Linked DNA regions of Homo sapiens: region 2 is linked to region 1. Evidence: promoter capture Hi-C in human tissues and cell types (Jung and others, 2019). All regions are on one chromosome and are shown on one strand. The core of a region is centred on a gene start or on the middle of the fragment in contact, and the rest is flanking DNA. Distances in the headings are between cores, read along the strand shown. Region 1 holds the start of SPAG17 (sperm associated antigen 17). Region 2 overlaps TBX15 (T-box transcription factor 15).

Region 1 (4,763 bases), core at 225-2,724:
CAGCAGTTTATAATTCAAGCAGAAATGTTCACTCCAAGACCAAACTTGGCCTACACAATCTCAAAGAAAATGGAGAAAAAATTATTTTGGCTAGCGCTGACTTATAAAAGCAAAAGAGAGGGTGCTTTTACAAAGTGCTTTGAAAAACATCTTTGAGAATTTGAGAATGTAACTGGGGATTACTGAGTTGACATCCAGCATTACTAAAGTTATAGAAAGGACCCAAAATTCCATGACATCACATCAGCATCAGGAGTATCACAACTACTTTCATGAAATTCTTCATCAGGACTAATTTCCTTATCAAACAGAATTACTGTTAATAGGAAAAAAAAACAGTTATAGTGGAAAATAAAGACAGGTAAAAATTTCTCATGAAGGCAACACAAGACTTTAGATCCATTTTCCCTTTAAGTACTGACTCTCTAGTGCACCATACAGACATATATAAAATGAAAAAAAAATTTTTTTTCCCCACTTTTCAAAGTAGTTCATAATGGCGGGCTGGAATTTCCAGAAACAACTTTTCTCTTCCCAAATGCTAACTTGTACGTAGAAACAGCTTAATGTAGAAGGGGATTTCCAGCTGCAGGTGACAAGAGCTATTGGGCTCCTCATTTACTGAAGCTGGGTGGGGAGCCAGTGAATTCTGGGATCTCATGCACTTTGAAGTCCTGTGGTAGGTGGTTTGTAGATTGCCTGGTGCCTTTGTGGCATTCTGTGGGTAAGTTGGCCGCCAACCCCTCATTGCTCTGATCTCCCACACCTTAAAAATATGTCAAAACTTTAATATAGTGGGATCAGGGCATTACATTAAAAAATCATCTTTTCCTATCTATACAAGGCTCGCTTGTACTAAATACAGTGTAATTCTAGGCACTCCGTGTCTGTTTTCACTCAGCATTTATTAAAGCCCTATTATGGGCCAGGCCACAGATGATTTGATGCGATTCTCATCCTTTAGAAGGTTTCAGGAGAAAACAAAAAGTCCATAAAAGGAATTCCAGTACAATTGTGGAGTGCCATCTGGACGACTTCACTGAAAAGGTTCTGGAGGTGTCAGAGCGACACCTCCTCTCTTCCCCACTAGGCAGTTCTCACCAACCTTTGAAATCACACTGACTCACCTGGTGGGTGTTCCCTTAAGTTCCGTTCGTTTATCAAGCACTTCCTGTCCCTGGGACCCTGGGTCCTGGAACCATCAGGCCACGGAGAGATACGGAAGAGAGGGCGAGCCTTAAGGCGTCGCCTAGGAGGGTCTGGCCGGGCCTCTGGCATTGCCGGGGGCAGGGAGGGCTTAAAGGGCTCAAGGCTCACCTGATTGAACTGTGCAGCTATGAGCGAGGGTTCCCATATCTTAGAACTGGTGTTCACAGTTCCTCCTTTCTCCTTCTTGGGTGCCATGCAAAGGACGGGAGAAGCATTGGCCTCTAAACTGGGCGCAGGCCCTGCCTAAGCGTCCCCGCTACCACAGTAACCGAAGCCACGCCCAGTTCCTGAACCACGTCGGCTCCCCTCCCCCAACACCGTTCGGAATCCTTGGGTCAACCGCCTCCGTCTCCACAGCAACGGAGTTTCAGAGCGCGCGGCAGCTTGGGGGCGGGGTTCCCAGTCCCCCGGTCAAATTTTAGGACTTTTCAGCAGGAAAGCTGCACAACTGGAGGAGGGCAGGACGAGGCTGGCCTCGCAGGTCGGGCTACGTTCTTCTACGGTCTGAGGCGTTGTCTAGAAACTCAAAATCTCTGGAATCCCATCCAGGACTCCTCCATCAAGATTTCTTCCGATCCTGAGTAACCAAGATTGGAATACTGACCCCTTCAGGAGGCAGCCCATGCCGTTTTTTCCCAACCGCTCTAATCTGCCCCAAATGCTTCCTTATATGAATCCAAATTTGTCTCTCCTTGACCTCTACCCTCTGCACTGTTTCAGCCTCCGCCTCTGGGGCCTTACTAAACAAGTCCAATCACCCTTCCACGTGACCCCTTATCTAACTGTAGGTGGGATTAATGTACTTATCTGCCCAAACAGCTCCAGTCCTTTAAACTGCCTTTTATTGATTGGTAAGTAGACTTTTTTTTCCCCTTTTTTCCCACCCTGCACTCATCAATATCTAAAATATCCTGGTTGGACAAGTTTCCCAAAATAATGATAGTAATAAAAACCATTGTTTCTTGGGCACTGGTTATATGCTATATACAAGATTATTTCATTTAATTCTCACAACCACCTTATCCAATTCCCACAGTGTCTGATTGATGGTGCCAGGATTAGATCCCAGGATTATCTGAGTCACAGATCTAGTGTGCATAACTGCTACACTGCTGTCTACTACTGTTTTAGGCCTGCCAAAATGAGGGATACCCCCTTCTGGAGCTAGATTTACTTTTGTTTTTTATTGCAGTGAGACAAATTTGAGGACACCCTGGGGCAGAGCGCAACCAAAGGTGCCTTGCGGTCTCATTAGTCATATGGAATTCAGCACTGACCAGGGCTTAACTAGCCATTAAGGCCCTGCACTTTGCCTAGAGGTGAGATGCTTCAGTTATCCCAGTGGCCCAGATGAGTGAGGTGATGCAAGCCAGAAACTTAATTTCCCTGGGCACAACCTGATGAACGGGTGACCTTCCACGGGGGATGTTCTAAACCTTTTAATTGCTAACCCTTTTAATTTCTTTGAGGAATAAATTGAGGGAAGGAGGATAGTGCTATCCAGCCACTAGCATCCTTTTTCATTTGGGGGCAAATTTTAATGATGATGCTTCAACTTTTGTTCGTAATTTGGACCATGAAAGGAAGTTTATCTTTCCACCCTAATTCTTTAATATAGTTAGAGTGAGCCCTCCCATCATCACAGTTCTTCATCCCTGGATTTAACCAACTTTGGATCCAAAATATTAAAACATAAATAAATATACAAATAAAAATACAGCATAACAACTATTTTACAGCATTTACATAATATTAGATATTATAAATAATCTAGATATGATTTAAAGTGTAGGAGAGGATGTGCGTAGGTTATGTGCAAATACTAGGCCATTTTATTGAGAGGTGAAGCCAGCTGGACTTCCTGGGTTGAGTGGGGACTTGGAGAACTTTTCTTACAACAGGATTGTAAAATGCACCAATCAGCACTCTGTAGCTAGGATTGTAAAATGCACCAATCAGTGCTCTGTAGCTAACAAGGGGATTGTAAAATGCACCAATCAGTGCTCTGTAAAAATGCACCAATCAGTGCTCTGTAAAATGCACCAATCAGCACTCTGTAAAATGCAGCAATCAGCAGGATCCTAAAAGTAGCCAATCGTAGTGACGATTGAAAAAAGGGCGCTCTGATAGGACAAAAACAAAACATGGGCGGAGACAATAAGGGAATAAAAGCTGTCCACCACCAACCAGCAGCGGCAACCTGTTGGGTCCCCTTCAATGCTGTGGAAGCTTTGTGCTTTTGCTGTTTCACTCTTCACAAAAATCCTTGCTACCACTCACTCTTTGGGTCTGTGCCATCTTTTTTTTTTTTTTTTTTTTGAGATGGAGTCTCACTCTGTTTCCCAGGCTGGAATGCAATGGTGGATCTCGGCTCACTGCCAGCTCTGCCTCCCAGCGGAGGCAGACTGGGTTCACAACAGTCTCCTGCCTCAGCCTCCTGACTAGTTGGGACTACAGGCGCCCAGCACCACACCTGTCTAATTTTTGTATTTTTAGTAGAGATGGGGTTTCACTGTGTTAGCCAGGATGATCTCCATCTCCTGACCTCGTGATCCTCTCACTTCAGCCTCCCAAAGTGCTGGGATTACAGTCGTGAACCACCGCACCCGGACAGGGTCCATGCCATCTTTAAGAGCTATAACACCGTGGAAGCCTGGGCTTCATGCTCGAAGTCAGCGATACCATGAACCCACCGGCAGGAACCAAATGCAGACACATCATTAAGGGACTTGAATATCAGACATTTTTCTATCTGAGAACGTGAAGGGTCCTGGAACTAATTCCCTGTGGATACCAAGGGACCATTGTATTAAAGAAAAATAATTTCTAGAAACAGTCTTTCACAGAAACTTTACAGAAAAATACGAGTTTTTATTTCTTGCTGGAATAAATACAGTTCATCTTCTTGGGAGGGAATAGATAGATCCTATGGCAGCCTGGCCATAGGCTAAATAATTTACATCTGGAAGCCCTCTTTTGTCATGAAAATAAAATAACTGATGCATGGTAATGCCAGAGAGAGATCTGCCAGAAAAGAATTTTCCTGAGAGTCTATAACAACACCGAGGCTGCTGTTAATTTTCATAGCATTTTCTCCAAAATTTTGTTCCTCACCAAAATTTTTTCAGCATTTGTAAGATGAAAATTTTCTTTGTATTATGGCTAGAAAATAAAGTTGAGTCTCTTTCAGACCAAAAAAAAAAAAATCTACCTAATCATTAATTAGATCATTCTAAATTTTGATTAAGTTCTCATAGTTTTAAACTGGGGGAAAAAAAGTCCTGCCTTTTTATTTAAAACGTAGTAAAAAGTTTGTTGGCATTCCGGGATATTTTATTAAAAAATTTAGCTGTTTGTGCGTGTCTCGCTACATTACTAATATTCTTTCTTCTTGAATGTGAACGCACACTTCAAAATAAACCATTACCTGCAATCAGTTTTGCCAGATCACTAGCAGATGATTAATAAAATACGTTGCAGATAAGAAGAGGAAAAAATAGAATAAGCAGAAAAAAAGTAAAATTAAGTGTTATTTAAAAATTGCAGAGATAGTG
Region 2 (4,376 bases), core at 26-2,525, 790 kb after region 1:
AAATTCCTTCGTTCCAACAAAGTAAGGATGGGTCAAGTGATGACCAAAGTACTTTAGGAGAAAATGTTAATATTTCAAAAAGCAAAACCAAAGTTAGGATCACAGAATCTCGTAGCTAAAGGGGCCTCAGAAGTCATTTGAGCCTTGTCTCCCTCACTTCACAAATGAGGCACTGAGGCCTCATCAGTGGCTATAAAACAATTTTGAAACTTTTTTTCAACATTAATATGTCTGGTTTTAAAACAAATATCCCTGGTTCCAACATCAATTTCAAAGCTAGCACTAGAATCTAGGACTCCTAACTTAAGCTCCTTCAGCCCTCTTTCTACCATAAAAATATGGATATAATACAGAACATGAAGGTCTGTGTTGAAAGCTTTGCAGGAGAGTGAAGACATATATATCCACATAAGTAAGTAAAGTTTCTGATATATTTTACAATTCAGTATTCCTTTGCAAGTTTGTTTATACCTTTAATTTTTTAACTAAATCCTTCTTTCTAAATAGTACGTATAGCCCCTCCCACCCTTTGATGCCAAAAAATATCAAATTATTAATTAACCTTCTAAATTGAGAAAACATTTCTGAACCCAGGGAAGGCACTGCTGTGTTCACAATCTCTTGTTGGCTCAAATGTTTGCCCCTCCCCACTGTGAAAATCAGTTATTTATTTTTCAGGAGCAAGAGTGGAAGAACTAAACCACCCGAGGCACCTAGCCCCTAGGTTTACAATTCGGAGCCCTGTATCCTGGAGAGATTAAAGCTTTGGAGCAAGGATGCATCGGGACAGGACTTCCCTCCAAAGGGAAGCCATTCCCGCCGGGTTCTTAAAAGAACGCAGTTATTTCAGCTACTAGTAGTCACTTCTCACTCTGCTTTTACACTTGGTTGGTTTCTTTTTCTTTCTTTTTTTTTAATAAAAGAATTCGTTCATTGTTTTTTAATCCCCAAGAGCAGCGGGAAGGACAATCATTTGCTTTTCTTTGTCTCGGTGGGCAATGCCCGCTTTCTGGGCGTCAGCGTCCCTGCCTCTTAGGCACCCAGGGATCCTCCACGTCACGATCCCACAGGATGACTTTCCTTTTTAACAGACTAGCTACGATATATACTGACCCTAGATTTACCCATTTGGAAATGGTTAGGGATTAAAAGTTCTTCAAGCCAGCGGATTCTTGGTTTCTAATTGCTAATGTTTGAAGTCAGTTTGATTCCTCGGAAATTTGTTCTGCCTGATGAAAGCAAAAGCTCGAACTCCCCTCAGGGCGCGAGGTGTGAGACCCTTGGGTTCCATTTGCATTTCTGGTTTGTCGTTGGCGGGTTCCTGATTTGTTTTTGTTTTGTTTTGGTCTGTTCTGTTTTTTGGGGGGTGTCTTTCACCAGGGCCTTCCCGGTTAGCCCAGGGTCCCCACATTTCTCCAGGATGTAATTAGAGCTAAGAACAGCCGCCATCCCTCAGGGTTCCGGGTCCCGGGTTTCCAGGGTCCCGGGTTTCCAAGGCCCCGCGATAACCCCGGGCGCACGCGGCGCGATGCGGCGAGGCGAGGCGAGGCGGTGGGGCCAGCGCGGAGCCCCAGGCGCGAGAACAGGAACTCGGGCTGGCACACCGAGGCCTCGCAGCCAAGCCGCGCCTGACCCGTTCGCCGTTCCGGCCCCGCGGCGCCTCCAAGGCCGGGCCGAGGGGCCGAGGGGCCGAGGGCGGGCAGACGCGGCCACGGCCTAATTCTGACTTCTGAAGGTCACCGAAACTGCGCTGTTTTTCCAGAGATGGGTTGAAGAGAAGAGATGCAATCCCAGTTCCTTCTGCGGCGAAACGGGATCTGAAATTCTTGGAGAGGGGGAAGAATTGGACGTTTTCATCGTGCGTGGAGGAAAATTGGGGGAGGGGAAGTGAGTGGCAAGTAAGGGGGTTAACTGCTTCCCGGACCCTATCCGGAGTTTAAACTACACGCTCCCAGCTGTGGGATAGTAAAGAGAACGCAGCGGTGAGGGGATTCGGAAAATCGGTTCATCCAGTTGACAACTAAAAGCTAAAAAAACTCCAAGGCTCCGGGCTAGGTCTATAATAATGACCTCTCTAATGTTCCCTTTCCAAGGGAACTCTACTCGTCATCTGTAGTGGGTGGTTTGTGTTTTTGTTTTTTAATCCTCTAAAGTGTATGGCAACATTTTGGAAACTGTCAGCTCATTTGAGCCTTGGCAACTATATTGTAGAAAATGTAAGAAGACAAATAAGAGGACGTTTTTACATGCATTTCTTACGTTCTTAAATTAATTTCCCCAAATCACGATGTTTCTCTAGTTATTTCTATAAGCCATTTTTATTATTAAGATTTATCTTAGTTATTCCGTTTACTTTCTACATGGAAGAACATGAAACCACTTTTTAGAATAAAAAGTAGCATTCTGCCCATCCAAAATTAATACAAATTACAAAATTAAATGCCAAATTTAGTTGGAAAAGTTTCCACTCCTCCTGTTCTTTTAAATAGCATCTGTACAGTCTCAATTTCTGGTATTTTGACTGGTGCTTTTTTTTTTCCTTCTTTTTTGAGACGGAGTCTTGCTCTGTCACCCAGGTTGGAGTGCAGTGGCACTATCTCGGCTCATTGCAACCTCCGCCTCCCTGGTTCAAGCGATTCTCCTGCCTCAGCCTCCCAAGTAGCTGGGATTACAGGCCCGCACCACCACACCTGGCTAAAATTTGTATTTTTAGTAGAGATGGGGTTTCACCATCTTGGCCAGGCTGGTCTTGAACTCCTGACCTCGTGATCCCCGCCCCCCGCCTCGGCCTCCCAAAGTGCTGGGGTTACAGGCATGAGCCTGGCCTTGACTGGTACTTCTGACTTTGGTCACAGTCATCAGTTTATTTACAAGTTAAATGAAAATGCCCATTACCTGGAAGTTTCAAAACTGGGATGCTTTAGAATCGTCCCATGATACCTAGGGGTGACAAAACTTTTGGCCTCCCAAATTTTATACATTCCCAATTTGTTAAACTAGCTACACACACACACACACACACACACACACACACACACAATGGCAGTTTCTTGTCCCAAATTTTGTCTACATCCAATTCAGAACTGATATTTTGATGTAGATATAGTGTTCTGGTGATATTATGGTGTTCACACATAAGTTTGTGTATAAGCACATACATTTGTGAACATATGTTTTATACACTTATCTATAAAATAAATAAAACACTAGCTAATATTAAAAGTATAAAATGAAAAGTAGTCATTTGCAAGGCCTGTTTTCACTTCTGGTATCAAAAGCTCATCATCAGTTTTGCAGTCAGCAAGATATCCTGCCTAAAAGTGAAGCCATTAGTGGCACTGAAGAAATGTTGATTGGTCCTCACCAGTTTCTTGAATTCCCCTTTTCCCATTTCACAGCGGGTCCTCCCTACTAAATCATATTTTCCACCTCTGACACTTAGAGCAAGGGCCTCACTTAAATTAACTAATGATTATCCTTCCCCCAAAGAAGTGTAAACAGGACCCTAATTTATAAATTTGCTAATTGCTGTTCCCAGTGCAGACCCCTGAGTATGTCAGTCATGCACATATAAAATTCCAGACTTACTAGAAACCAGGAAAAGCAAAGCAAAAATAAACTACACGGATGAGAAAGAGTAAGGAAAAGAGATTCCACATTCCACCAGTTCCTTAGTTTTCCCTTTTGTGAAAAGTATCTCAAAAGGTCAAAACATAAAGCTCAGATGGGAAAATCATTTAAGTATTTTCTCCTATTGAACAACTTTATCTTTTGAGAGTAAGAAAGCAATAACCAGCTGCACTCCCAGAATAATAATCGAATGGAGTCCTGTTTCCAGAAAGGAGAAAGGTATATAGCATGCCAATCTGCCCTTTATCCCTGTGGAATTTGTACAGTTCGGCCTTGCTTTAAAAAACAAAAAACAAAGAAAAAATTATAGCCACCCTGAGAAGGAATTCACAGATTTAAGAGGTAATTGTTTTTCTCCCGGGTGTGAGAAATAAAGTTCTACCAGAGTCTATAATCAGGATCTCAAAGCGATCCTCTCATCTTATAATTTTTTTGGCAATAGAACGATTGTGATGGACCGGAAATATTTCACTCAATAATAGCATTGCATGCCCTAAGAGAGGACTGGATGAACACAATGTTTAGGCCTTCTAAGCCAAAATGTAGTTGTCCCTTTCTCCTTGTGGCCTAATATGAGGGTTAATGACGAGGAACTCGTTTCCATGTTTACACTCATGAAGCACATTATACAGATAAATGGGGAACACAAAACACAATACCCAGTATTTTTAGTTTTGGTCCCCAGTTTAGGCATTGCATGCCATTCTTCACTCCTCACATGCTGTCTATATTAAAAGATTTTAAAC

Evidence for each region. The method cuts DNA at HindIII sites, captures the fragments that hold promoters and counts their contacts. A contact is called where the count stands out against the background at its distance.
Region 2: a contact is called between a fragment that was not itself captured here and the fragment with the promoter of SPAG17 in region 1, in 2 of the 25 tissues and cell types used here (dorsolateral prefrontal cortex and stomach).

Annotation. Positions count from the first base shown.
Region 1 is chr1:118,183,754-118,188,516 of GRCh38, forward strand. It overlaps SPAG17 (sperm associated antigen 17), which reads right to left and starts at 1,475. Exons shown (of 49, transcript NM_206996.4): 1 at 1,318-1,475. The coding sequence starts at 1,404. It overlaps LOC105378930 (a long non-coding RNA gene), which reads left to right and starts at 1,477. Exons shown (of 4, transcript XR_947746.3): 1 at 1,477-2,060; 2 at 2,402-2,528. The HindIII fragment of the contact is 16,923 bases long and covers 1-4,763 here.
Region 2 is chr1:118,978,302-118,982,677 of GRCh38, forward strand. All of the region lies in intron 1 of TBX15 (T-box transcription factor 15), which reads right to left. Among named protein-coding and RNA genes, the nearest start is that of TBX15, 7.9 kb to the right of the region's middle. The HindIII fragment of the contact is 6,637 bases long and covers 1-4,376 here.